Regions from separate parts of the Homo sapiens genome. Here region 1 is linked to region 2. Evidence: promoter capture Hi-C in 16 types of primary human blood cells and fetal thymus (Javierre and others, 2016). All regions are on one chromosome and are shown on one strand. The core of a region is centred on a gene start or on the middle of the fragment in contact, and the rest is flanking DNA. Distances in the headings are between cores, read along the strand shown. Region 1 overlaps LOC124900418 (collagen alpha-1(I) chain-like). Region 2 holds the start of KLF2 (KLF transcription factor 2).

Region 1 (5,871 bases), core at 1,352-3,851, 490 kb after region 2:
CAAAATCACTGAGCTAAAGGGAAAATTCAAGCTGGGAACTGCTCAGGACAAACCTGCCTTCCATTCTATTCGAAGTCATCCCTCCAGCTCACTGAGATAGACGCATATTCTGATTGCCTCCTTTGGAAAGGCATATTGGAAACTCAGGAGAAGGCAACCACTTGTCTCTCCGTGACCTGGAAGCCCTCTCCCTGCTTCGAATTGTCCCCATCTTTCTGGATAGAACCAAATACTCCTTATATATATTGACTGATGTCTCATGTCTCCCTAAAATGTATAAAACCAAACTGTTCCCTGACCACCTTGGGCACATGTCAGAACTTCCTGAGGCTGTGTCAGGGGTGCATGTCCTTAACTTTGGCAAATAAACCTCCTAAAATGATTGAGCCTTGTCTGGGCATTTTTCTTGATGGACAACACTGTGTGGAATTTCCCCTAGTCCAGGAGGAAGAAAGAGGAAGGGCCCAGTGAGTACTGATGAATGCCAGTGTCCACTTGCAAATGTCACCCCACCCCCACCCCCAATCCCCAGAGGTCCTTGTTTGAAATGCTTGTTCTCGGGCGCTGTAAAGAATAGCACTTGAACATGAATTTAATTTCTTCAGCAAGGCCAGTTTCTTACTTTCCGCAGAAAAGATACACTTGCTAGCAGTTTTTGCCACGAGAGTACACTGAACAAAAGAGACAAGGTCATTTACAACTTGACGCGTCTACCCTACTGCTGTGTCCAGTTACCATTAGCTGGAACAAGACCTCACACTCTGTATTTATCCCAATCAGCTAGCAACTTAGAACTTTTTTTAAAAAGGCAAAAGCAGAAGAAAACAAAAGAAAGAAGTAACTTGTAGAACGCTAAGAAAAGTAAAAACACCTTCAAATAAAGAACAAGCTACGACCTAATACTTGGTTAGACTAGTATAAGCATGCCAAAGCAAATATTTAAGCTAAAATGTAAAAGCTAGGAACATAAAGTACATTGATTTCTTTATTACAGCTAGCAAATATTTAAGAATATTAGTACAAGTCTTTAAATAAATGTTGCTTCTAAAACAAGTTATTGTTTGTAAAAAGTAAAGTAGAGGTTCCTCTTCAAAAATTTTCCTTCCCATTCGATTAGGAATAAATAGTAACTTCTCTTAAAAGCAAAATTTATTCAAAGACCTGTGCTAACATTCTTAAATATCTGCTAGCCATAATAAAGAAATCAATATACTTTATGTTCTTAGCTCCCACAATTTAGCCCAAATATTTGCCCTGGTATGCTTATACTGGTCCAAGCAAGCATTAAGTCATAGCCTCTTCCTCTTCCTTATTTGAAGGTGTTTTTACCTTTCTCAGCATTCCACAAGTTACTTCCTTCTTCCTTTGTTCTCCTCCACCTTTGCCTCTTTTAAAACGTTCTAAGTTGCTAGCCAATCAGGACAAACACAGAATGTGAGGTCCCGTTCCAGCCAATGGAAACTGGACACAGCAGTAGGGTGGACACCTCAGGTTATAAATGACCCTGTCTCCTTTGCTCGGTGTACGCTCGTGGCAAAACTGCTGGCGAGTGTACCCTTTCTGCAGGGAGTAAAAATGGCCTTGCTAAATAAATTAATGTTAAAGTGCTATTTCTTTATGGCACCAAAAACCAAGCATTTCAAACACTATTTATTCTTAATTAGATGAAGAAGGAAGTCTTTGAAGAAGAACCTCTACTTTTCTTTTTACATCCTGACACGAGGAAGACAACAAGCCCAGTTGCCAGGAACCGCCCATTTGGGCTCCACGCAGCCAAGTGTCTTCTCGGGTCTCCTGTCTTTCTAACCCCAGGGGGCGGGACCTGAAGCGGTATCCAATCAGGGGCACTAGGGGCCGTACTAACTATCCAATCAGGAGCGTAGCCGTAGCCGGGGGACGTGGCGGGCTGTGGAAGCTTCAGTTTCTGGCGGTTTCTTTGTTTTTTGGGGTTTGGGGTCTTTGCTGCTCGCGCAGGCCCTCCTCCCCTCTAATCCCCGTCGCCGCCCCTCTGCGACGTGAGCAGGCCCAGGGGAGGACGCCGGGACACCCGGAAGCCGGAAATGCTGAGTGTGCGGGGCCGGACGTCCCGAGACCGGAGGAGGAGCTGGTGGAACCAGCCGGATCTGGCTGTGGCGGGACCCGGGCCTGTCCGCTGCGACTCCGGGGTCTGGGACCCGAGTTCCCCTGGAGCAGCTCGGCCCTCGGTCCTCTCGGCCGCAGGGTGGGGCTGGGCCGGCAGCTGGGACTCCGGGAGTCCTGTCCTGTCCCTGCGCAGTGACTGTCGCCCCAGAGCCCTCTCTGGGCAGCTCCGCATCTCCCCAGATTGTGCGGGGGCCACGGGAGGATCATGGGGGGATCCCGCCTCCGGCCTGGGGATCCTGTGGGAGGAGCCATGGCCTGTGGGCTCCCCAGTCCCGCCTTTCCCCCCGAAGGCGGCCCCCGCTTCTCCCTGAGTCTTCCAAAAGGTGTGCGAAGCCGGGTCTCCGCGACCCGGTCCCCCAGCCTCGCTCCCCCTTGGGCTGGCCGTAAATCTTGTAATGAACGTTTCCCTCCCCGCATTCTCTAACGCCAGCGTCTCCACTGCAATCCACATGGTTCTCAACTGTTAGTCCCTTTGTTGTACGTTTCAAATCGACGTGGCATTTAAATGATCATCGTTCCACAGAGCAGTGGCTGACTCTTTTAGGAAGATTTCTTTTCTGTCACCTTTTCACATATAAGGAAAGGAAAGGAAAACCACATGAAACGCCTCTGTTTACAAAAGCCTTTGTGCCGCTACTTTTATCTTAGACACCTCATCAGACTGCCTTTGGGTTGAGGTTCCTGTCACGCGTGTCCGTATAGAAGACACCCAATCAGGCTTTGTGTGAGCAACAAGGCTGTTAATTCACTTGGGTGCAAGTGGGCTGAGTCCGAAAAGAGAGTCAGTGAAGGGAGATAGGAGAGGGGCAGCTTTATAGGGCTTGGGTAGGCGTGGAAAGTTACAGTTAAAGGTGGTTATCCTCAGCAGAGGAGGGGGTCACAAGGTGCATGGTGGAGAGATGATGGGACTCATTGTCCAGGAGAAGAATGTCACAGGGTTGATTGATCAGTTGGGGCAGGGCAGGAACAAGTCATAATGGTGGACAAGTCATAATGGTGGAATGTCGTAAGGTGGGTTAATTAGTTAAGGCAGGAACTGGCTGTTTCACTTCTTTGTGGTTTTTCGGCTGCTCCAGACTTCTTGGCTCCTGCAGGCCACCTGGACGGATATGTGCAGGTCACAGGGGTTACAATGGCTAAGCTTCAGCTCACAGGCCTGACATTTTTGTCTTTTTATTTATAAAATATGAAGTTGTAGGAAAAGATTAAAAAAAAGTGTAAGTTCCTTCTGGGGATTACTGGGGTAGGGCTGATATTTCTCCGGACTGCTTCAAGTGTGACCAGGGACTGCGTGGACACCTTAAAGAAAATTTTATAATGAGTCTAGTAAGTTTCGGGTCTAGGGTGCATTTTTATGTAGCTAACAAGGTGCCAGTTAGCGTATTTTTGAGCTTGGAACTGCCCTAATAAAATAAGTTCTCTAAAAACAGTAATCAGGCATATTAGCTTTAATGTAGGTGGCGATGAGTTTTTAGGCCAAGGAAGGAATAATGTTTTATGTACCAAAGCCTTTTGTCCCCATTTTCCATCATACGAATAGTATTCCCTGTTGCTAAGCCGATGATACATTACCCTTTTCCCATAGGTGTGAGTGGCGGTCTGAATGGAGAAGTTCAATAGTTCTGATTGCAGATCCTATGCAGAAGAGATAATAAGGAAAATAATCTTTGTCTCCTGGATTAAGCTGAGGCTGGCAAAGAGTGAAATGTCCCAAGCCCTCTAACAACAAACAACATACTTTGTGTTGTCCTGGATGCTGGTCTGGTTGCCAAATATGTGGAACTGGCCCCATATGCGTGTACTGTTGTCCATTTCATGAGAGTAGGCTTGAGGACACCATGGGCAAGGATCTGATGGTTGCCAGCCTAAGCGTTTTAGACTTTTGACCCAGAGATTTTTTGTTTTGGGTGTGGAAAAAATTTTAGAGGATAGGGTCTCAAGATATAATCCTTTTTATAGGCGGCAGGTCTTAAGAGATGAGGGTCCAGAGGAACGGATGAAGCCTGCTTGGAAGCATGCTGGGATGGCCATTTGGAAGGAGTGTTGCAAGGAAGCATGGCCTTGGCTGGGCGCTGCCAGGAGCTTAAGGGTTGTAGGTTGTTTGTCTGATCGGCTCTCGGCCTAATCTTGTGGCTTCCAGGAGGAAGAGGAGAGATCAAGCTGGCTGTCTGATGGGCATGGCTTTATTCTGGAATGGTGAACCCAATGGAGAGGGTCCTGCAGATGGACGGCAGTTGGTGTGCTATAAATGACCGGGTAGGGTCTGGTCCATTGAGGCTGTAGAGTTTGAGGGGTCAGACTTTTGACAAGGACTGATCGTCCAGCTAGGGTGTCTTCATATGGCTGGGAATCTGGAGTAGGCAAGAGAAGATTAGCAGCTTGGCAAATTTCCTGTCTAGCCTGCTAGAGGACTGGAAGATAGTTGCCCAGGGGGCTGGTGTCTGGAACAAGATTGTGGCTGAGTAAGAAGGTGCATCCATATAAAATTGAAATGGGTTGTACCCTGTGGCTTCTCAAGGACAGGCCCTAATTCTGAGGAGGGCAAGTGGTAAAAGTACTGTCCAGTCCTTTTTAAGTTGGAGGCTGAGCTTGGTGAGGTGTGTTTTTAAAAGACCATTCATCCGTTCTACCTTTCCTGAAGATTGAGGACGGTAGGGGGTATGAAGTTTCCACTGAATACCAAGAGCCTGAGAAACTGTGGAAGTAGGGAGGCCAAATTGGGGGATTATATCTGTCAGAAGGGAAGAAATGACTGTAGTAGCCTTTCAGAGCTAGTGGGAAAGGCCTCGACCCATCCGGTGAAGGTATTGGCCCAAACCAGGAGATATTTAAATTTACAGACACGCGGCATATGAATAAAGTCAATTTGCCAATCTTGTGTCGGAGGAAATCCATGAGCCTGATGCGTAGGAAAAGGAGGAGGCCTGAGAAGACCTCGGGGGTTGGTGGCATGGCAGACAGAGCATTGAGAGGTGATGGTTTTAAGGATGGATTTCCATGATGGGATGGAAATGAGGGGCTGTAGGAGGCCAGCCAGAGGCTTATATCCTATATGGAAATGGTCATGAAGGGAAGAGAGAGTAGACTGGGCTTGTGAGGCAGGAAGAACGAATTTTCCATGATCTAAGAACCACTTGCCCTGAGTTGGAAAAGACTGGTAGAGCAGGTTTTTTAGAAGAGGAGTAGGTGGGGGTGATAGAGAAGAAAGAAAAGTACTAGCCTTTTGGGGTGAGGGCTAGAATATTTGCAGGCGTGGAGGCATTTGCTGTTTCTTTTGCTGTCCTGTTGGCGTAGGCATTTCCTTTAGCAATAAGATCAGTTGGTTTCTGGTGTCCTTTACAATGAATGAACCCAGCTTTGGCCAGCAAGAGAGCAGCATTAAGGAGGGCCTTTATTAGAGAGGTATTGATAATGGAAGAGCCTTGTGTGGTGAGAAAACCTCTTTCAGTCCAAAGGGTAGCATGGTTGTGGAGGATGTGGAAAGCATATTAGGAGTCAATATAAATTTTAATGTGCATTCCTTTGGCGACAGAGAGTGCACAAGTTAAAGCAATCAGTTTGGCTTGTTGGGAAGTAGTGGAGGGAGGAAGTGCAGCAGCCTCAATAATAGAGGTATGGGACACGACAGCATAACCAGCTTTAGCTGGCGAGATTTGACTGGGTTTAGAGGAACTGCCATGAATAAACCAAGTGTGGTCTGGATTTGGGATTGGAAAAATAGAAATATGA
Region 2 (6,238 bases), core at 566-3,065:
ACTGTTGTCAGCCACGCTCCCCGACGGGTCCTAAGCATGCACCCTCTCTCCAGCATTCTAAGACACGGAATCTCTCAAGGTTTCCCAGCGAACACTCCCTCCCCAAGGTCCTGAGCCTTGTCCCCAGAGGAGTCCCAAGCCTGAGCGCCCTCCCCAACTTCCTGAGACGCAGCATCTCCCCGGGGTTCCTAAACGCGCACCTACTCCCCAACTACCTGAGCCTCAGCCCCGGGGATTCTGAGCCAAGTGCCCAGCGGCTCCTAAACCTGCTCCCCCTCCCCAACTTTCTGAGACTGTCTCCCTAGCCACGCCTCCAGGAGGTTTTCTAAGTGCTCTTCCCAACCTCCGGAGGCCCCCCTCGTCCTAAGCGTGCAAGCCCCCACCCCAACCTCTCGGATCACACTTCCTTAGGGAGTGTTCCTGTGTGCCCCCCCAACCAACCTCCCGAGCCACGCCTCCTGGGGAGTCCTAAGCGTGCACCACCTGCCAGATCCCCCTGAGCCACGCCCCAAGGGAGGTCCTAAATTCATTTTCTGGCGCGCGCTGGGAATCCGACCTCTCCTCCCGCGTCCCCCCGCCTGCGCTCCTGGCTCGTGCGTGCCGCCCACCTGTGTGCGTGCGCAGATGCGCCTTCAGATGCGAACTCTTGGTGTAGGTCTTGCCGCAGCCCGCGTAGCTGCAGGTGTGAGTGGCGGTGCGTTTGCGGGGCCAAGAGCGGCGGCCGCGCTTTGGCTTGGCCTCCAGCAGCTCCAGCGGGGACGCAGGCGGCGTGAGGAGACCGCGGGCGGCGGGGGGCGCCAGGCCCAGGGCTGCCGCGGCGGCGGCCGCGTCGTCGAAGAGACCGAAGGCTGGGGGCGCAGGCGGCGCGTAATGCAGGCCGGGCCCGGGCGCGCCGAAACCAGGGCCACCGAAAGGCGGCGGGAAGGAGGCGCGCGGACCGGGCGCGGGCAGGCGCGCGGGGCCGTCGGGGCTGAGCGGCGGTGTGTCGGGCGGCGGCGGGGGGCGGCCCCCGGGACCTCGCATGCACGAAGCCGCCGGGCCCGGGGCGCCCTCGCGCTTGAGGCCGCGCGGTCCACGGGTCAGCCCGGGGGCGCAGCCGTAGCCGCCGCCGCCGTCCGCTTCAGGGGGCTCGGCCTTGACCAGGCGGCCGGGCGGCGCCAGCAGAAAGCGGCCGTGCAGTGCGGGCCCCAGCGGCGCATCCAGCTCGGGTCGCAGCAGCTCAGACACCAGGCCACCCGCGGGGGCGCTGTAGGGCGGGGGCGCGCCGGGTTCGGGGTAATAGAACGCAGGCGGCGGGGGCGGCGGCGGCGGCTCCGGGGCGGCCTCGGCGCCCAGGCCATCCAGCCCCATGGACAGGATGAAGTCCAGCACGCTGTTGAGGTCGTCGTCGGTGCCGCCGGACTCGGGTTCGGCGCGCGGCCAGCGCTGCGGGCGACAGGGCAATGGGCGTGAGCGGGCGGCGGGGCTCGGGGGGCGCTGCTTGCCTTTTACCACCCTAAGTCCGCGATCCCCGTGGCCCGCATCCTCCTCTCCTGAGTCTGCAGTCCCCGCCTTCGCGTCCTGTCACCCCGCAGCCCACGTTCTACTACCCCGAGCCCGCCGCCCACGGTCCCGGCCGCCCCGCCGTCCCCGCCGCCCTCACCTCCTGCAGGCCGCGCTCGCGGCACGGGCTGGCGAAAGTGGAGAAGGACGGCAGGATGGGTTCACTCAGCGCCATGGCCGGGACCCGGGGAGAAAGGACGCGGACGGGGACACCGGTGAGTGGCTGCCCGAGGCCGGGCTGGTCGGGGCGCGGGCGGGCGGGGACGGCTCTGTGGGCCGCGGCCGGGCCCGCCCAAGCCTTATAGGCGCGGCGCGCGCGGGGGCCGGGCCAAAGCGGCGGCGGCGGAAACGCGTCCCGGATGGGGACGAGCTCCGGGCGCAGCCTAAATTTAGCCGCGGTATATAAGCCGGCGGGCGGCAGCGGCCGTGGCCACTGCGGCGGCCTGGGCCTTGCGCTGACAGCCCGGCCCCTCGCGCGCCGCCAGGGCCGCGCCTCCCCCTCTCCCGGGCCCCGCCCCCGCCCGTCTCCCCGGCGACGTTGTCAACACGCGCTCCACAACAGCGGCGTGACGCTCAGGGATCCCCCGGGCGCCCCGGGCTCCCGCCTGCGCGAGCATCCCGGGGACCTGGAGCGGGGGCGGTGTCGGGGCCTCTCAGAGACTCTCAGGGGAGCACCGGGCTTGGCGGTCTCCCCGGATCCCTTGACGGAAGGGGAGATTGGCTCCAGCCTCAGAGAGGGCTGCAGAACCCTGGATGGATGGGAAGTCTGGAGTCTCCAGGATTCATGGATGGGTGAGGCTGGGCCCCTCATCTGTTGTGGGACCACCCAGAGGGACCCACCGTGTGCACATCACCCTGTAAAAAAAAACACCTTGTGTAGACCTGGTGCAGTGGGTCACATCTGTAATCCCACCGCTTTGGGAGGCTGAGACAGGAGGATCACTCGAGGCCAGGAGTTCAAGACCAGCCTGGGCAACACAGTGGCCCCCATCTCTTAAAAAATAAAAAAAATTAGCTGGGTGTAGTGGGAGGCTGAGGTGGGAGGATCGCTTGAGCCCAGGAGGTCGAGGCTGCAGTGAGATACAATCACACCACTACACTCCAGCCTGGGTGACAGAGGAGACTGTCTCAAAAAAACAAACAAAACAAAACTTTTGTGTGGTAACATCAAGACACATTAAATCTTTGACATTTGAGACACCCACCCCCTCCTCCCCAACCTCAATAAGCCCGTCAAGTGCAGGGAAACTGAGGCAGAGGTGGCTGGGAGAAGTTGGAGTTGCGGCAGGCACAGGCAGGCTGGGTTCCTTTACTGACTTCCATAAATGAATTAAGTAACTCAGAGGACGGTGATGACAGTCATTCCCCCAATACAGCTCCAGCATCGGGGGCATCAGAGGACAATGCTGCCCAATGGGTCCCTTCAATGCTCCACCTCTGTCCCCCACACCATATCCCTGCTGGCCAGGGACTGTCACTCCTGTTACAACTGTCTGCCAGCCCTGGGTAGGCACTGGGGACACAGTAACCAAGAGATAGACAAGATCCCTGCCCTAGGGGACCTCCACTTTAGTGAAGGAGGGAAGGATAGAGGTTTATTCATTTGAGTTTTTTTGAGACAGGGTCTCCCTCTGTTGCCCAGTCTGGAGTGTAGTAGTGCAATCACAGCTCACTGCAGCCTCGAACTCCTGCGCTCAAGAGATCCTCCTGCCTTAGCCTCCCAAGTAGCTGGGATTACAAGGTGCACACCACCATGCCTGGCTAAATTTTTTTTTTTGTATTTTTTTGTAGAGACGGGGTCTCACTATGTTGCCCAGGCTGGTCTTGAAGTCCTGGGCTCAGGCGATCCACCCGCCTCGGCCTCCCAAAGTGCTGGGATTACAGGTGTGAGCCATTGCGCCTGGCCTTACTGATAGGGGTTTAAAAAGAAAAATGGAGCAGTAGAAGGGACTAGAAAGTGAGTGTGAGATGAGGGAGTGGGAAGGAGAAAATGGGGAAATTCTGAATCTCACCCAGGGGGTGAAATGTGAGCTAATGTGAAAAAGTCATTGGGGACCATGTGGGTATGGGAGGAAGAGCATCCCAAGGAGGAACTTGGAGCCAGGTGGTGAGGGATGCAGGCAGCTCCTGCCCTGGAAGCTTGGACTCTCAGCCTCTGCAGAAATGCACTCTGCAGGGTCCCCTCTGCAGCCCCCACCAAACCCAGTCACCGGAGACTTCAAGTTGAATACAAACTTGCTTTCTGCAGTTGCCACTGAAATGGCTGCGAGTCAGCCTCAGCCACTGAGCACGCGCTGTGTGACCTTGAACCAGTGGCTTTGGCTGTTTGGGCTTGCCTCCTCAATCTTCGAAATGCAGATAAGAATAGTACCTTACCCCAAATGGCTATTGTGAGTTCACACAGGCTCTTTTCTTTGTTGTGGAAGTAGGTGACATCTTGTGTGACACTGAATTCTCTACCAGCGCTTGGGAGATGGGCCTGCTTGTGTGCTTTGGGAATTGAATTGCCTTTCTCTGGGCCTCAGTTTCCCCGTATGATAATGATGGAAAGATTAAGGGAATCAGGAATTTCTCCTCAAGGATATGGGATGCCTGGGCAGCTGCCGGGAAGGGTTTTTGTTTGTTTGTTCCTTTGCTTTGGCCAAGACCGTCGGCTGGGCGCAGTGGCTCACACCTGTAATCCCAGCACTTTGGAAGGCTGAGGCGGGCAGATCACTTGCGGTTAGAAGTTGGAGACTAGCCTGGTCAACACGGTGAAACCCTGTCTCTACTAAAAATACAAAAATTAGCCGGGCGTGGTGGCGTGTGCCTATAATCCCAGCTACTGAAGAGGCTAGAATCGCTTGAACTTGGGAGGTGGAGGTTGCAGTGAGCCGAGACCGTGCCACTGCACTCCAGCCTGGGTGACAGGGTGACAGAGTAAGACTCTGTCTAATTAAAAGAAAAAAAAAAAAAAAAAGACCTCTGACCACAGCATCCCTCTAGTTTGTCAGAGAGCACCTTGGTCCCCTGGGCCTCTGAGCCTTGCTCACTGGCACCTGCAGCTTGTCTGAGGTACCTCTCTGCCTTCCTCCTCTCTCACTGTCTCTGTTTGGGTCCTGAAACACACCAAGCACATTCCCCTCTGCGCTCACTGCGCCCCCGACCAGCGTTCCTTTCTTTCCATTTCCAATTGTGAAGCTCCGTCGTCTCTGCCTGTCTCTCTCTCTCTCTTTTTTTTCAACCTCCCTTAACTAACGTACTTTATTTATTTGTTTATTTTTGAGACAGAGTCTTGCTCTGTTGCCCAGGCTGGAATGCAGTGGCTCAATCTTGGCTCACTGCAGCTTCCGCCTCCCGGGTTCCAGGGATTCTCCTGCCTCAGCCTCCTAGGTAGCTGGGATTACAGGCACCCGCCACCATGCCCAGCTAATTTTTGTTTGTTTGTTTGTTTTGTTTTAGTAGAGACAGAGTTTCACCATGTTGGCCAGGCTGGTCTCAAACTCCTGACCTCAAGTGATCCGCCCGCCTTGGCCTCCCAAAGTGCTGGGATTTGGGAGGCGTGACTCACAGCGCCTGGTCTGGACTTTTATTTTCTACAGCAGTTTTAGGTTTACAGAAAAATTGAGCACGAAGTACACGGCGTTCCCAGGTAGCACCCCTCGCACCACCCCAACCTTTCTCCTATTATCATCTTGCATTAGTGTGGTGCATTTGTGACAATTACTGAGCAGAGAGGAATATATTGTTATTAACTAATAATAATAATAATCCATAGTTTATTTATTTATTTATCTTGACACAGGGTCTTGCTCTGTCATCCAGGCTGGAGTGCAGTGACGCGGTCATGGCTCACTGTAGCCTCAAACTCCTAGGCTCAAGCCATCCTCCCAGCTCAGCCTCCCAAGCAGCTGGGACTACAGATGTGCACCATTATGCCTGGCTGATTTTTGTTTGTAGAGACAGGGTCTTGCCATGAGTAATTCAATCCATGAGTAATGGGTTAAATAGTGGCCCCACAAAGAAATGTCTGAGTCTCAATCCCTGGCACCTGTGACTATGACCTTATTTAGAAAGAGTTTCTTTGGCTGGGCACAGTGGCTCACGCCTGTAATCCAAGCACTTTGGGAGGCCGAGGCAGGTGGATCACCTGAGGTCAGGTGTTCAAGACCAGCCTGGCTAACATGGAAACCCCGTCTCTACTAAAAATATAAAATTAGCCAGGCACGGTGGCTTGCGCCTGTAGTCCCAGCTACTTGGGAGGCTGAGGCAGGAGAATCACTTGAATCCGAGAGGTGGAGGTTGCAGTGAGCCGAGATCGCACCCTTGCACTCCAGCCTGGGCGACAGAGTGAGACTGTCTCAAAAACAAAAAGAGTTTCTCTGCAGACATCATGAAGCGTCTTGAGGTGAGACCATCCTGGATTAAGGTGTGCCCTGATCCAGCGACAAGAGTCCTTAGGAGAGAAAGGACGCAGGAACACAAACACAGAGAAGAAGGGCATGTGAAGATGGCCAGAGATTGGAGTGAGGCAGCCACAGGCCCAGGGATATCTCCGGAGCCACCAGCAGCAAAACTGGGAAAAGATTCTTTTTGTTTCTTTTTTTTTTTTTTTAGATAGAGTCTCCCTCTGTAGCCCAGGCTGGAGTGCAGTGGCGTGATCTTGGCTCACTGCAGCCTCCACCCCTTGGGTTCAAACAATTCTTGTGCCTCAGCC

The links. Contacts are between HindIII fragments. The CHiCAGO score rates a contact against its expected background, and 5 or more counts as called.
Region 1: a fragment that was not itself captured here is called in contact with the fragment with the promoter of KLF2 in region 2 in 2 of 17 cell types (naive CD4 T cells and non-activated CD4 T cells); the score reaches 7.6 in naive CD4 T cells.

What each region holds. Positions count from the first base shown.
Region 1 is chr19:15,833,124-15,838,994 of GRCh38, reverse strand. LOC124900418 (collagen alpha-1(I) chain-like) reads right to left here. Exons shown (of 3, transcript XM_047439793.1): 3 at 1,615-3,777. The coding sequence starts at 2,593. The coding sequence ends at 1,988. UCA1 (urothelial cancer associated 1) reads right to left here. Exons shown (of 3, transcript NR_015379.3): 3 at 2,674-4,493. Among named protein-coding and RNA genes, the nearest start is that of UCA1, 7.1 kb to the right of the region's middle. RefSeq lists enhancers at 1,558-1,707, 1,848-2,077, 2,858-4,057 and a silencer at 2,208-2,427. The HindIII fragment of the contact is 1,368 bases long and covers 1,918-3,285 here.
Region 2 is chr19:16,320,403-16,326,640 of GRCh38, reverse strand. KLF2 (KLF transcription factor 2) reads right to left here and starts at 1,815. Exons shown (of 3, transcript NM_016270.4): 1 at 1,643-1,815; 2 at 609-1,425. The coding sequence starts at 1,717. KLF2-DT (KLF2 divergent transcript) reads left to right here and starts at 1,971. Exons shown (of 2, transcript NR_186323.1): 1 at 1,971-2,334. RefSeq lists silencers at 588-677, 1,148-1,197, 1,228-1,477, 1,568-2,297, enhancers at 477-1,247, 1,248-2,020 and a promoter at 1,670-2,505. The HindIII fragment of the contact is 6,001 bases long and covers 1-3,683 here.